Linked DNA regions of Homo sapiens: all the other regions are linked to region 3. The links are contacts of gene promoters, found by promoter capture Hi-C in human tissues and cell types (Jung and others, 2019). All regions are on one chromosome and are shown on one strand. The core of a region is centred on a gene start or on the middle of the fragment in contact, and the rest is flanking DNA. Distances in the headings are between cores, read along the strand shown. Region 1 overlaps ARHGEF7 (Rho guanine nucleotide exchange factor 7). Region 2 overlaps ARHGEF7 (Rho guanine nucleotide exchange factor 7). Region 3 holds the start of ARHGEF7 (Rho guanine nucleotide exchange factor 7).

Region 1 (4,080 bases), core at 910-3,409, 71 kb before region 3:
ACTCTGACAGACATGCACTTGGCTCCACCCTTCACCTCCAGGCACAGATGCTGCTCATCCATTTCTACAGGCAACTCACTCTAAAACTCAGTGGCCCAAACAACAAGCATCTGTTATCTCAGTTTCTGCGTGTCAGCGTTCAGGGCAGCTTAGCTGGGTGAATGTGGCTCTGGGTCTCAGGGGAGGTCGTTGAGATGTCAGCTGAAGCTGTGGGATTCTGGCAGCCTAAGGCCTTGCAGGGACTGAGGAGGTGCTACCAAGACAGCTCCACAGCGTGGCTGTGAGCAGGAGGCCTCAGTTCCTGAGTCCTCAGAGAACGGACAACGGACTCCACAGAGCGAGTGATCCCAGGGCACACGCAGGAAGGAAAGCAGGGCCTGCAGCTTCAGGAATCCTATGAGCTAGCCTCAGCAGTCAGGCAGGCTGTGCTCGGTTCATAAGAAATGAGTCATCAGCCCCACCTGTACTCAAGGAAAAGAGAACAAGGCTCCAACTACAGAAGGGATGAGCATCCAAAAACGGGAAGACATTGCTTGAAAATCACCAGCAGATCCACCCACTCTCAGAGTGCTAGGTTTTTCTCTTCCAGCTGAGTGACCACACCTTCACACTGGATGTCAGATGTCACAGCCACTCTGCCTAGCGGACAAAAGTTGACAAAGAAACGGGTCACAGAAGGACACTCCAATGTTTGGGATTCGAAAGGCTCCCCTACTGATACCCCGATATTAGTGACTTTGCCTCACCCCACTTCCAAATTCATAGGAAGTGTAGAAATTCAGGAATATCTTCCACAGAATAAAAACAGCAAAGCAAACTACATCACAAAATAGATCGTGTGATATGTCTAATATATAACACAATGTACATTATGAAAATACTTCATATAATAAAGATCCTGTGTCAGAACCTTTCCACTACAAGCAAGTAAACCCAACTCAAATTGGCTTAAACAAAAAAAGGAAATTATTGGTTCGCACAACAAACAAGTCAGGAATGGCAAGAGCCACAAGCTCAGAACCGGAAGGCTTTCTCCGCTCTCTTTCCTACTCTCCTGAGTGTGCGCCACAGTTTCAGGAACGGTCTCCCTCATCAGGCAACAGGACCACTGGCAGCCCCAGGCCCACACCACCAGGTCAACACCTCAGATGCATCTCGCTGGACCCAGAGCCCACCACGTGAACCAATTTCACAGCCAGTGAAGCAGAACAAGGAGAGCTGTCCAAGGAGCCAACAATAACGGACACAGCATTCTGGCAAACCCACACATAAACATGTATTAATAATTTAGAGCACAAAAATTCAGACAGTCCCCCAGAGCTAAGGGACACCACTGTAGCACTAGGGCCACACAAATGCACGCAAAAGGACACACTGACCAGCTCTATTCCAGCCCAACTGCTTTCACACCACCCTCCCAATACCCACACCAACAAGCACAGCAACCTTAATCAACCCCGTCAGTACTGACACGAGAGCAAAAGAATGCCTCCTGCCTCCATGGTAGCGCTGGCTGATGCACCTCTACGTAGTAGACCCCAAAAAGACCAGACCGGGAAATGGGGAAAGAAGTAGTCGTCTTTTTGCTTCTCCTCACTTTCCACCATCTCAATACTGACGGAGAGGCCTCTGCAATGTGGGACTGAGCGCACACTTTCTGGGCTCACTGAAGCTTTAGTGGTCTGCGTTGCCACCAGTCAGCTCGCCTCCTCCAGGAACTTGAGAAAGTTATTCTTGACACAAGAAATTGTTATTTTTAGCACAGCTCTGGAGTGTGGTTTGCAAAGTTTAAAAATATAATTTTGTCCTATCACTGTCAAATGGAACTTGTGATTTCAGAACAAGAGTAAAAAATGAATCTTAAATAAGTGGTGCTATTTAAGTTTAATGCAAATGGTCCATATTGTTGGGGACATGTGAAAAACAGAAATCCAGCAGTACGTTTTCACTTCCTGGCTTCTGCAGATTTTGTACTTAATCCCACCCACTCCTACACCCCAGGGGTAAAATTAAAGTCTGATGACGGATGCTATCAATTACGGCACTTTCACCCAACATGCACCCAAATGATTTATTTCACTTTAAAATGAAAATCAAATCTTATTCAATTTTGTGGATTCCACTGTATCAACACCCAAACACTAGGACAGAGAATACATCTTCAAAAAAGAAGTAACCAAGTATTTTAGGTAGTTTCCAGGAAGGGGTGAGAGGAGCAGAGCAGGGAGGCAGGAGCACAGCAACGGGAAGGCAGGCAGGGCTCTTCCCAACAAGATGCTCTCTGCCTTCTGCAGACCGGGCGCAACCTCCACACGAGGCAGGGAAGCGCAGCCCCAACAGGCAGGGGAAAGGAAGGACACCTCCCTGCTTAGGACCACGGCATGCTGTGCTGGCCCACACAGCCCGTACCTCAGTGTAGACTGCATGCCAGTTTATCTTACAGGCAGAAAACGAAAACACACACACACACACACACACACACACACACACACACACACACGAGCTCCCAAAAGACAGTGTGACAAAGCTTACAAAGGCAGAACCAAGATCGGAGCCCACCAGCCTGGCTTTGCCCACACCACCACACTGCCAGCCAGGAAAGGACACCAGAGACAGTGGTGTCCCACAGCGGTCATGCAGGCAGATCAGGCAGCACCCAGGGGAGGAGGGGTGGTCTCAGACACAACTCACCACGTACACACACACAGCAGCCCATACAGCCTACACAGGCCCCCAAACTTCTGTCTTCGACTGCTAGGAGCACATGCCTGCAAAGAACAGCCTGGCTGTCGCCAGAAAGTGAGCACATACCACAAAGAAGGATCTGGGCAGATGCAACACACTGGCTTGGGCTAACAGTAAGTGAAGCAGTAACATTTACAGCTATAAAGGCAATGCGCCCATTCCATTAACTTCAAAATGCAAGCAGTTACAAGACTCCAGTTTTGAGAAGTTTCTCAAGATGGCCCACTGCAAACACCTATCTAACTCCCATCCCTCCCAAGGTGCCACCGAAATGAGAGAAAGAAAAAGCTTCAAAAAATTAACAGAGAAAGAACCCGCTGTAGTGCTAAAAAGGGAAAGGCTATGAGCAGTCTAAACAGGGTTTGAGGAGATCCCTGGGGACAGGACGCAGATGGACTCTGAATGACCTAACAGTTCAGAACAGCACTTGTAAGGGAGCCCCAGGAGCACCAAAGACGGTTTTCTAACACAGGAAGGGACACGTGACCCACCTCAGGACTTCAGCACGACAGCCCCTTCTTCCTGATGGGAAGCTCAGCACCCAGACCCCTCTCTAATTAAAAAGAAGCTGCTGCCTGCACTGGATTCTAACCGGAGGTGAAGTGACCCTCTCTAATTAAAGAGAAGCCTGCGGCCTGCACTGGATTCTAACCGGAACCTGATGCACCACTAGGCCCACACAACAGTCTCTGAGGAAAAAAAAAAATGACAATTCTACCCAGAAGCGAAATCCCCTGGGAGCTCCACCACCAGCCTGGACTATCCCCCATCTGAAGTGTGACACAGGAAACAGGTGCAGAGAAAGTGTCTCCCTCAGCTCTGCTCGTGTAGCTGCTTCTAGAGCCCTCCATCCGGTTCTCCCCACCTGCTCCCAGACACACAACCCGCACAGTGAAGCCCACGGGGCCGGTAACCCACACACAGGACTGCACAGTCCCCTCCGCTCTGATGCCAGTCAACTGGGCTTTTATTCACAAACAGGAAGAACCCATCAAGGCCACACCTGATAGGAAATAACAGCATAGCACAAAGAGAACTGACCTATGACTCCCAAAAAGATGGAGAAGACACATCTCCCCCTCCCTCCAGCTGAATGCAGCTAAAAGCCCTGGATGCTGCCTATAAAACAAACGTCAGCCTCAGAATGTGAGAGAGGAGGCAGACCGGCTAAGGGTTTCAGGGCTGGGAACCATGCCAGCGGGTTCTCTGGGTTTTCTTTTTGCCTCAAATGCTCCAAACTGAGTGCTAAACAAGCCAGCAACCCAGAAACACCAACAGGTACAGAAGAAAAGCCTCAAGAAAGACCTATCCTCTCTAGCCAAAGGACCAGGACAG
Region 2 (4,053 bases), core at 615-3,114, 110 kb before region 3:
ATAAGACTAAAGCATCTCGTTTAGCACACCAACAGAGGAAACCAACAGAAGAACAAATTAATCACAAAGAACAAACCTAGAAGAAAGTAGGAGGAAGAAGGTAAGTCAAACGGGGTACACAGGGAGACCCTGAAGTTGCTGAGGGCTTGGTTTCAGACCATGGCAATACAGTGAGTCACACAAATTTGTTTCCTACTGCATATAAAAGCTATGTTTACACTATACTGTAGTCTATTAAGTTTGCAATTGCACTGTCTTTAAAAAAAGTACATTCCTTAGTTAAAAAAAAAGTTTCTAAAAAAATGCTAACAATCATCTGAGCCTTCAGCAAGCTGTAATCTCTTTGTAGAGGGTCTTGCCTTGATATGGATGGCTGCTGACTGATCAGTGGCTGCAGAAGGCTGCGGTGGCTATGGACACTTCTTGAAACAAGACAATGAAGTGTGCCAGTATCAACTGATTCTTCCTTTCATGAAAGATTTCTCTGGAGCGTGAGATGCTATTTGGTAGCATTTTACACACATACAACTTCTTACAAAATTAAGAGTCAATCTTCTCAAACCCTGCTACCACTTTATCAACTAACTTTTTGCAACAGTCTAAATCTTTTGTTATTTCAACAATGTTCACGGCACTTCAGCAAGGGTAGATTCTATTTCAAGAAACCACATTCTTTGCTCAGCCATAAGGAGCAACTCTTCATCCATTCAAGTTTTCTCATGAGACTGCAGCAGTTCAGTCACATCTCCAGGCTCCACTTCCAATTTTAGTTCTCTTGCTGTTCCCACCACACAGGTAGTTCCTTCCTAAACTGAAGTCCTGAGGCCCTAAGGTCATCCATCAGGGTTAGAATCAATGTCTTCCAAACTCCTGTTGATGTTGATATTTTAACCTCCTCCCATAAATCACAAATGTTCTTAACAGCATCTAAAGGGGTAAATCCTTTCCAGAAGGTTTTCAAATTACTTTGCCTAGATCCATTAGAGGAACCACTATTTATGGCCTTACAAAATGTATTCCTTAAATGCTAAGACCCAAAAATCTAAATTAATCCTTGACCCATGAGCTGCAGTATGGATGCTGTGTTAGCAGCATGAAAACAACATTAATTTCTTTGTATGTCTCCCTCAAAGCTCTTGGGTGATTAGGTACACTGTCAATAAGCAGTAACATGCTCAAGGGAATCTTTTTTTCCTGAGTGGGAGGTCTCTAAAGTGGGCTTAAAATATTCAGCAAACCATGACACAAGCAGATGTGCCACCATCCAGGCTTTGTTGTTCTAACTTACAGCGCAGAGAGGCAAAGTTGGTTAAGCATAATTCTTAAGGGTACTAGGATTTTCAGAATGGTAAATGAGAATTGGCTTCAACTCAGTCACCAGCTACATTAACCCCAGACCAGAGAGTCAGCCTGTTGGTGTGGCCACCTTCACCGATGATGTCAGCTAGATCTTCTGGATGACTTGCTGCAGCTTCTCCGTCAGCACGTGCTGCTTCACCCTGCACTTTCATCATGTTCTGGAGACGGCTTCTTTCCTTCAACCTCATGCACTAACCTCCATTAGCTTCAAACTCTTTTTCTGCAGCTTCCTCACCTCTCAGTCTTCATAGAATTGAAGAGATTAGGCTTTGCCCTTAAGGAAATGTTGTGGCTGGTTTGATCTTCTATCCACACCACTCAAACTTTCTCCATATCAGCAATAAGGTGGTTTCATTGCTTATCATTCATGTGTTCACTGGAGTAGCACTTATAATTTCCTTCAAGAGCTTTTCATTTGTATTCACGACTGACTGGTGCAACAGGCCTAGCTTTCAGCCTGTCTCACCTTTCTACATGCCTTCCTCACTAAGGTTAATCGTTTCTAGCTTTTTATTTAAAGTGAGAGACATGCAACTCTTCCTTTCATTTGAACACTTAAGAGGCCATAGTAAGGTTATAAACTGGTTTAATTTCAGTATTTTTGTGTCTCAGGGAATGAGTGGCCTGGGGAAAAACATGGGGAATTCCCGGTCAGTAGGGCAGTCAGAATACACACAACATTTATCAATTAAGTCTGCCATCTTACATGGGCATGGTTCATGGCACCCCAAAACAATTCTAACAGTAACACCAAAGGTCCCTGATCACAGATCACCATAACGGATACAATAATGAAAAGCTGTGAAATCGTGCAAGAATTACCCAAATGAAGCACTGGGACAAGTGGGCACATGGTGCTGGAAAAATGGCACCAACAGTGTTGCCACAAGCCTTCCATTTGTAAGAGAAAAAAAAAAAAACAAAAAAACAAGCAAAGTGCAATAAAGTGAGATACGCCCTATAAATCTAAGCAGAGAAGTCTCTGCATACTGTGAAGAGTTGCGAGGCAGCTACGTAGGAGAGGAGAGGAGGTGAGTAACGCCTCTCCCTGGATCAGGGCTGTGGGAGTGGGTGGCCTGTGCTCTTCCCCACATGAGCTCTTCCGTCTACTGGCTATCACATGCTACAAGCATGTGGCATGTAAGTAATACAATTACTTAAGCATAAATGCAAATAAAACTTTTTTAAAAAAGAGAAGCTCTAATACTGGAAGACTAACAACCTGACCCCTAATTACTCTAAGTCAGCTGGTCTATGGGACGTGCTCCTGAAACGGAAGATGTGTAATCATCACCGACAACGGGAGGCAGCCACATTGCAGTGAGGACATGCTCGGTATACCAATCTAGGAAAATATTCACTTTCACACGCCAGAAACATTTCCAAACCATCTACTCCAAGACCCCTTTGTACATAATGCTATAATACGCTCCCTACGCCTGCCTCGGGGGGCCCATATCTTCTAATTTATGTTCTTCTCTCTTGTTTAAAAACAATTACATCTTGAAACAATAGTGCTGAGAGGTCCATCCTGTAATGCAGCCTCATGTGTCCCATCCAAACCCAATCCTCACCGGAGAGGAGGAAGGACTACAGCACAAGCTCACATCCAGTGGCACGAAGGAAGGCAAGGTTCTGGGGTACTTTTGTCCTTTTCCCCGCACAGATTATACTCACATCAAACACTGTTCCTCCACAGCTAAATTAATAACGACATCCAAAATTCAGCTGCGTGTTGCTTTATGTCAAAAATAAGTAAAAAATATTTAAAAGTGACCAACTTAAAAAGTGGCAATGTCGTTAAAGATCTGTGGATCAGCAAATGACAGTCCCATTTAAGCTCTCACATCACTGCCAAACACAGACAGTCATCATCTCAAGCTAACCAGCCCCCAAAACAGCATTTAAAAGAAATGTCTTTACAACAGATAATAAGCTGTCCAGAAATAGGAGAATGACTAAAGTCAGCACATTAGAAATAATCATCTAAAAAAGCCTGAGTCCACATGCACACACAGAAAACTGGTCTTGGAAGCACACAGAGCACGAGGTGTGTTCTCACAGCTGCTAACCGTGTGTGCCACATGCAGCTGAGTGCCTCCACTTCTATCCAATCACAGCAACCACCATCACCACTCACTTCCAGAATGGACCTTGCTGCTTCTCTCCTTAACTTCTCCCTTGAATTTAGGAAATTCTGAAGCAAGGGAGTAAGAGTGAGGGTGGGTGGGTGGGTGTGAAACACAAATACATATCAGCCTGTAAAAAATGCTGTAGACGCTGGCTGCGGTGGCTCATGCCTGTAATCCCAGCACTTTGGGAGGCTGAGGCGGGCAGATGACAAGGTCAGGTGTTCGAGGCCAGCCTGGCTGACATGGTGAAACCCTGTCTCTACTAAAAATACACAAATTAGCCGGGCGTGGTGGCGGGCACCTGTAATCCCAGCTACTTGGGAGGCTGGGGTAGGAGAATCGCTTGAACCCAGGAGGTGGAGGTTGCAGTGAGCTGAGATTATGCCACTGCACTCCAGCCTGGGCAACAGAGCAAGACTCTGTCTCAAAAAAAAAAAAAAAATGCTATAGAAATCCATGGGTTTTACCTAACCAAAAAAGGTGCACAGAAAATAAATGCTAAGTGACAATTATTTACCTTCCATAAGACTGTACTGTACATATTCAGGAATAATATACAATG
Region 3 (4,345 bases), core at 1,769-4,268:
GTTTCCTTTAAATGAGCAGAAGAATCTGACACGCCGTGAACGTCCTCTCTGCTCCCTCCACCCTCTTCCTAACTCTGAAACAGAACAAATGAGCGTAATGGAAGAAACACATTAGGGCATGGTTTCTTAATAAAAGACATATGGGAAGCCCGAGGCACCCAGCCACGTTTTAGTTCTGCCCTCATCCCCAGCCTCATGGCCCATGCCAGGTTGTGAGCCTGCAGAGGCGAAGGCTGCAGGCCACTTGCCCTCCGCTCACTGGCTGTCAGGGCACTCCTGCAGCAGAGGTCAAGCGAAGCCCCTGTCATGTCCACATGAACATTCAGTTAAGTTTCCAAATGCTTCTTTTTAAGGAAAAAACATCCTCAGACTCACATTCCCACATTTAAGTAAAAGTTATTCAGCATGTGTGCTTTGTGGCATAGATTATCTGGTAAGCATGAAAACACCAAAAACCCAGATAACTGGCTGGGCGTGGTGGCTCACGCCTGTAATCCCAGCACTTTGGGAGGCCTAGATGGGACAATCCCTTGAGGCCCGGAGTTCAAGACCAGCCTGGCCAACATAGCAAGAACCCATCTCGAAGGAAGGAAGGAAGGAGAAAGAAAGAGAGAGAGAGACAGAGAGAGAGAGAGAAAGAAAGAAAGAGAAAAAGAAAAGAAAGAAAGAAACCCAGATAACTCTGCCTAGCAAATGGAAAAAGCTCACAAAACTTCTGAAACACAGGGATCTCAGAGGCAGAAAACGGCTAATATTTTACTCCAAAAACCTACCTTTGAACTCCAGAGAACCAGTAACTGTGTCTACAATACGCTGCCTTCACATTAAACTTTCATTGTGACAGAGTCAGTTTAACACAAACCAACTGGAGCTCAGGGGGAATCAAAAACAGCTCTGACCTAAGAAATTTCCAGATGACTGTAGTTTTAGAATATGTTGAGTTGTTTCAACTTGGCTTCTGCAAGCTCAACATTTTATTCGTTCTTCTCTTTGTTGTTTTAGAGATGAAATGAACGCTACGGTTTTCTAGGAAAATCTTTCTATAATTTAAAAGAAAATGATTATTGAAGTCGGCCAATCAATATTAATACAGTTAATATGCCAAACAACATATTCTTTGATGGCGACATGTTTTTATCAATACAGCATATGACACTTCTTAAAGCTTTGCTCTTAGGGATGGAACAGAATTTTATTTAAGCCTATTTTGGTGAACTTTGCATGCATTTCAACACTTTTCAACATCTGTCTTTCATTACCAGAGGTACCAGTATCCAAACAGCAAAGTATTTTGAATGCCTTGAAAGTCAGCTCCTGCTCCTCAGTCCTCCTGTCTTAAATCATAATTTCACTGTGACATCAGGTTCATTTTTAAGGAACATTTTTATTTCATGGACAGGCAGGCAGCCATTCACTCTAATATGCAGATTCTGTTTTCATAAAGATGTTCCAAGTAAGAAAAATAGCTAAAAGTGGAATGCAAGCCAAATTCATATTAAATAAAATGTTTTCTGACCTCATTTAAAATGTAGCAAGAGAATATGTACATGTGAATGAAAAAAATTAAACATTTTACTTTTTCAAGTCACTTACGTGGCATTTTATTTACAAGTTGTTGTCATCCTGTATGGGGGCCAATACACCCCACTTAAAAACTGAAATCCTTCTTCCTAATTATGGTACACTTCAATTTCTATATTTAACACCTTTTAAATAACTGTTGATCTTAACGCTATATATTGGCCACCCCCACCCCCACCCCACCCCCCGAAGAAACACCCTGGGAATAAGATTTTAGTATTTTGAGCTACAGGGAGACATCGTTTTTAGAAACTCTCCTGCCTCCTCGGCCCTGCTGGCCGGCTTGTGGGCGATGAAAACAAACTTTAATCACTTCCAGAGATTCGGGTCAGGGTTCACACGCTCCAGCCTGGGAACCACCAGCCGGAAGGGAGAAGCAGTGCCTGCAGGACTAAAGGTTCTGTTCAGAACGAGGGAGGGACCTGAGAACGAAATCTAGAATTTTAACAAGCCTTGAAGAGTGCCAGGACTTAGACCCTGTGTCTGCCGTCCTCTCGGCTCGGATAGGTGGGGAATTTTCTCGAGGGGAAAGTAGTAGATCGTTTCACAGCGCAGCCCTCAGCTACAGATGCGTGCCTCTTTAAAAATACAGAGCAACCGGTCAATTAACCTGGGAGGCGAAACTCACGCAACGCCACCGGCAAGAACTGTCCACACAAAGCCAGCGGAGTGAGCCGCACCGCGTCGGAACGCGGTTTCCGATGCGGCTGCTGCCAGGGAGCGGGGCCGGCCCCCCACGCGGAGGGGCAACTTAGCGTTCGGGCGGCGCAGAAGCCCCGTCTCCTCGCTGCGGTGCACTCTCCTTCCCGGGGACCCCCGCCGCCCGCGCCGCCCCTCCCCCCGACCCCGCTCCCCGGCCCCCTCCCCCTGCCCCGCACACAATGGCGCCCCCCGAGCTCCCGCCACGGTCCTGGCGCCGGCCGCGCCGCCGCTCCGCGCACAAAGGAGGGCGCACGGGTTTCCCGAGCGCGGCCGGCCTCAGGTGCTCCGCGCGCATCCCGGGCCGCAGCGGGCCGGACCGGGGGGCGCGGGCGGGGGCGCGGGCCGGGACTTACTTTCTCGATGGTCCCGGGGAGCAGGCGCTCCAGCAGCCTGCAGAGGACCACCCCATCCTTCAGCGACGCCTGCAGAAAGCCCTCCGGGTCCGAGATGGTTTTTTTGGGCGACTCCAGCACCCCCAGAGTGATGAGCCACGTAACGGTTTGCTCGGCGGAATTCATCGCTGCGGCCCGGGAGGCAGGCGGGGAGGGGCGCGCGCCTTCACCTCGGAGCGGCGGCCCGGCCCGCGGCCCCCGCCGCCGCCGCCGCCGCCTCGCCCATCGAGCGGCCGGCGCCGGCGATTGGCTCGGCGCGGCCCAGCAGGTCCGGCCCGGCCCGCTTCTCCGTGCGCCCCGGCCCGCTGTCAGGCGCCTTCTCAGGAGCGGCTCGGGAACCTGCGGGCGCCCGCCGCCGCCCCCCGGCCTCGGCCGCCGTCGCCCAATGACATCACCGCCAGGAGAAGAAAGACGCGGCCGTCCGCCCGGCCCGCGCCCGGCCCGCGCCGCCCCGCGCCCTGCGCAGCCTCCGCTCCAGGCCGTGCGCGGGGCGGCGGCGGCGGCTGGGAGCGGGCGGGGAAGGGAAAGGGGAAGGGGAGCGGGGAGCGGATGGGGAGGGAGCCGGGGGTGGGGGCGGGCGCGCACCTGCGCTTACCTGCCCCGGGCCCGCCGTGCGCCCCGCGCCCCTGGCCGGGGCACTCGGAAGCCTTTGTTTATGTTTTGAATTCGTGAGCGTTGAAATGATGAAGTACTTCCCAGAATGCTCTTTTTATTTTTGCCGGTTTTATTTCAAGGTGGCGGGGACAGGCTGAAAACGAGACGTTTGTTTCGCTTTGCTACCTTGCAAGCCGGTCATGACGGAACAGAAATGATGGTTCCATCTGAAGCCATATGGGTCTGAATCGGGAGGAACCGACTCTCCGGAGCGCGGCGCCGACCTCACCGGCAGGGCAGGGGCCTGCGCGACTCTGCTCTAGACGGACGGTGACGCTTCAGACCCTGCCGGGGGAAGGTCAAGGAAACGGCGTGGCCTGAAGTGGGGCTGTGCAGAGGGCCGGGCCGGGCCGGGCCGGGCGCCTGGCTGCGTCTCGGGGACGCCGAAGATCTGGGCTGTGAAAGCAGCAGGCCGAACCTGGAGAGCCCAGACGGCAAGTGTCGCGTCATGCGCGAGCTTCCTCGAACAACTGATGACACGCACACATTGACATGCGAGGAAGAAATGGAGCCTCTTCTTAAAAGGACACGAGTCTCCACTCACTCCATCCACTGTCCCTGGGCGCTCCCCCAGTTTGCTCGCTATGACCCGCGGGCAGTTTAACAAGCAAAGCACTTAGTCTATGCCAGGCACATACATTAATCCATTCAATGACAAAGGCTAGAAAGCATATAAAGCTTCCAAAAATAATCAGAGGCTTAAGTCGTCTCCCCCTGCCTTCTGCCGGTGGATTTCTCTTGCAATCACTAATTGCTTTTATTTCTAGCCTTGAGTTAAGTGGTTAAAATTTTCTTTGCAAATACAAAAAATATTCAAATGGCAGTATGAATTCTGGATTACGAGGACAATGTGCTCAGTGATAACAGCGACTGGTTAGGAACCGTCACAAAGTGCTGTCTACTGCCTCGCCTCCCATCATGGTCCCCTTTTACTGATCAGATGCCGAACAAGTGGCAGAGATAAGACCCAAAGCTCGGCTCCTACCAGGAAAGGCATACCTAACCCGTTTCCTACT

The links. The method cuts DNA at HindIII sites, captures the fragments that hold promoters and counts their contacts. A contact is called where the count stands out against the background at its distance.
Region 1: a contact is called between a fragment that was not itself captured here and the fragment with the promoter of ARHGEF7 in region 3, in 4 of the 25 tissues and cell types used here (aorta, dorsolateral prefrontal cortex, heart right ventricle and 1 more).
Region 2: a contact is called between a fragment that was not itself captured here and the fragment with the promoter of ARHGEF7 in region 3, in 2 of the 25 tissues and cell types used here (heart right ventricle and spleen).

Annotation. Positions count from the first base shown.
Region 1 is chr13:111,184,382-111,188,461 of GRCh38, reverse strand. All of the region lies in intron 2 of ARHGEF7 (Rho guanine nucleotide exchange factor 7), which reads right to left. Among named protein-coding and RNA genes, the nearest start is that of ARHGEF7-AS1, 38 kb to the right of the region's middle. RefSeq lists enhancers at 3,233-3,492, 3,593-3,722. The HindIII fragment of the contact is 3,787 bases long and covers 266-4,052 here.
Region 2 is chr13:111,223,739-111,227,791 of GRCh38, reverse strand. All of the region lies in intron 5 of ARHGEF7 (Rho guanine nucleotide exchange factor 7), which reads right to left. Among named protein-coding and RNA genes, the nearest start is that of ARHGEF7-AS1, 77 kb to the right of the region's middle. The HindIII fragment of the contact is 8,988 bases long and covers 1-4,053 here.
Region 3 is chr13:111,113,983-111,118,327 of GRCh38, reverse strand. ARHGEF7 (Rho guanine nucleotide exchange factor 7) reads right to left here and starts at 3,018. Exons shown (of 22, transcript NM_001354046.2): 1 at 2,637-3,018. The coding sequence starts at 2,801. It overlaps ARHGEF7-AS2 (ARHGEF7 antisense RNA 2), which reads left to right and starts at 2,650. Exons shown (of 2, transcript NR_046667.1): 1 at 2,650-2,781; 2 at 3,410-4,345. RefSeq lists a silencer at 3,056-3,145. The HindIII fragment of the contact is 8,096 bases long and covers 1-4,183 here.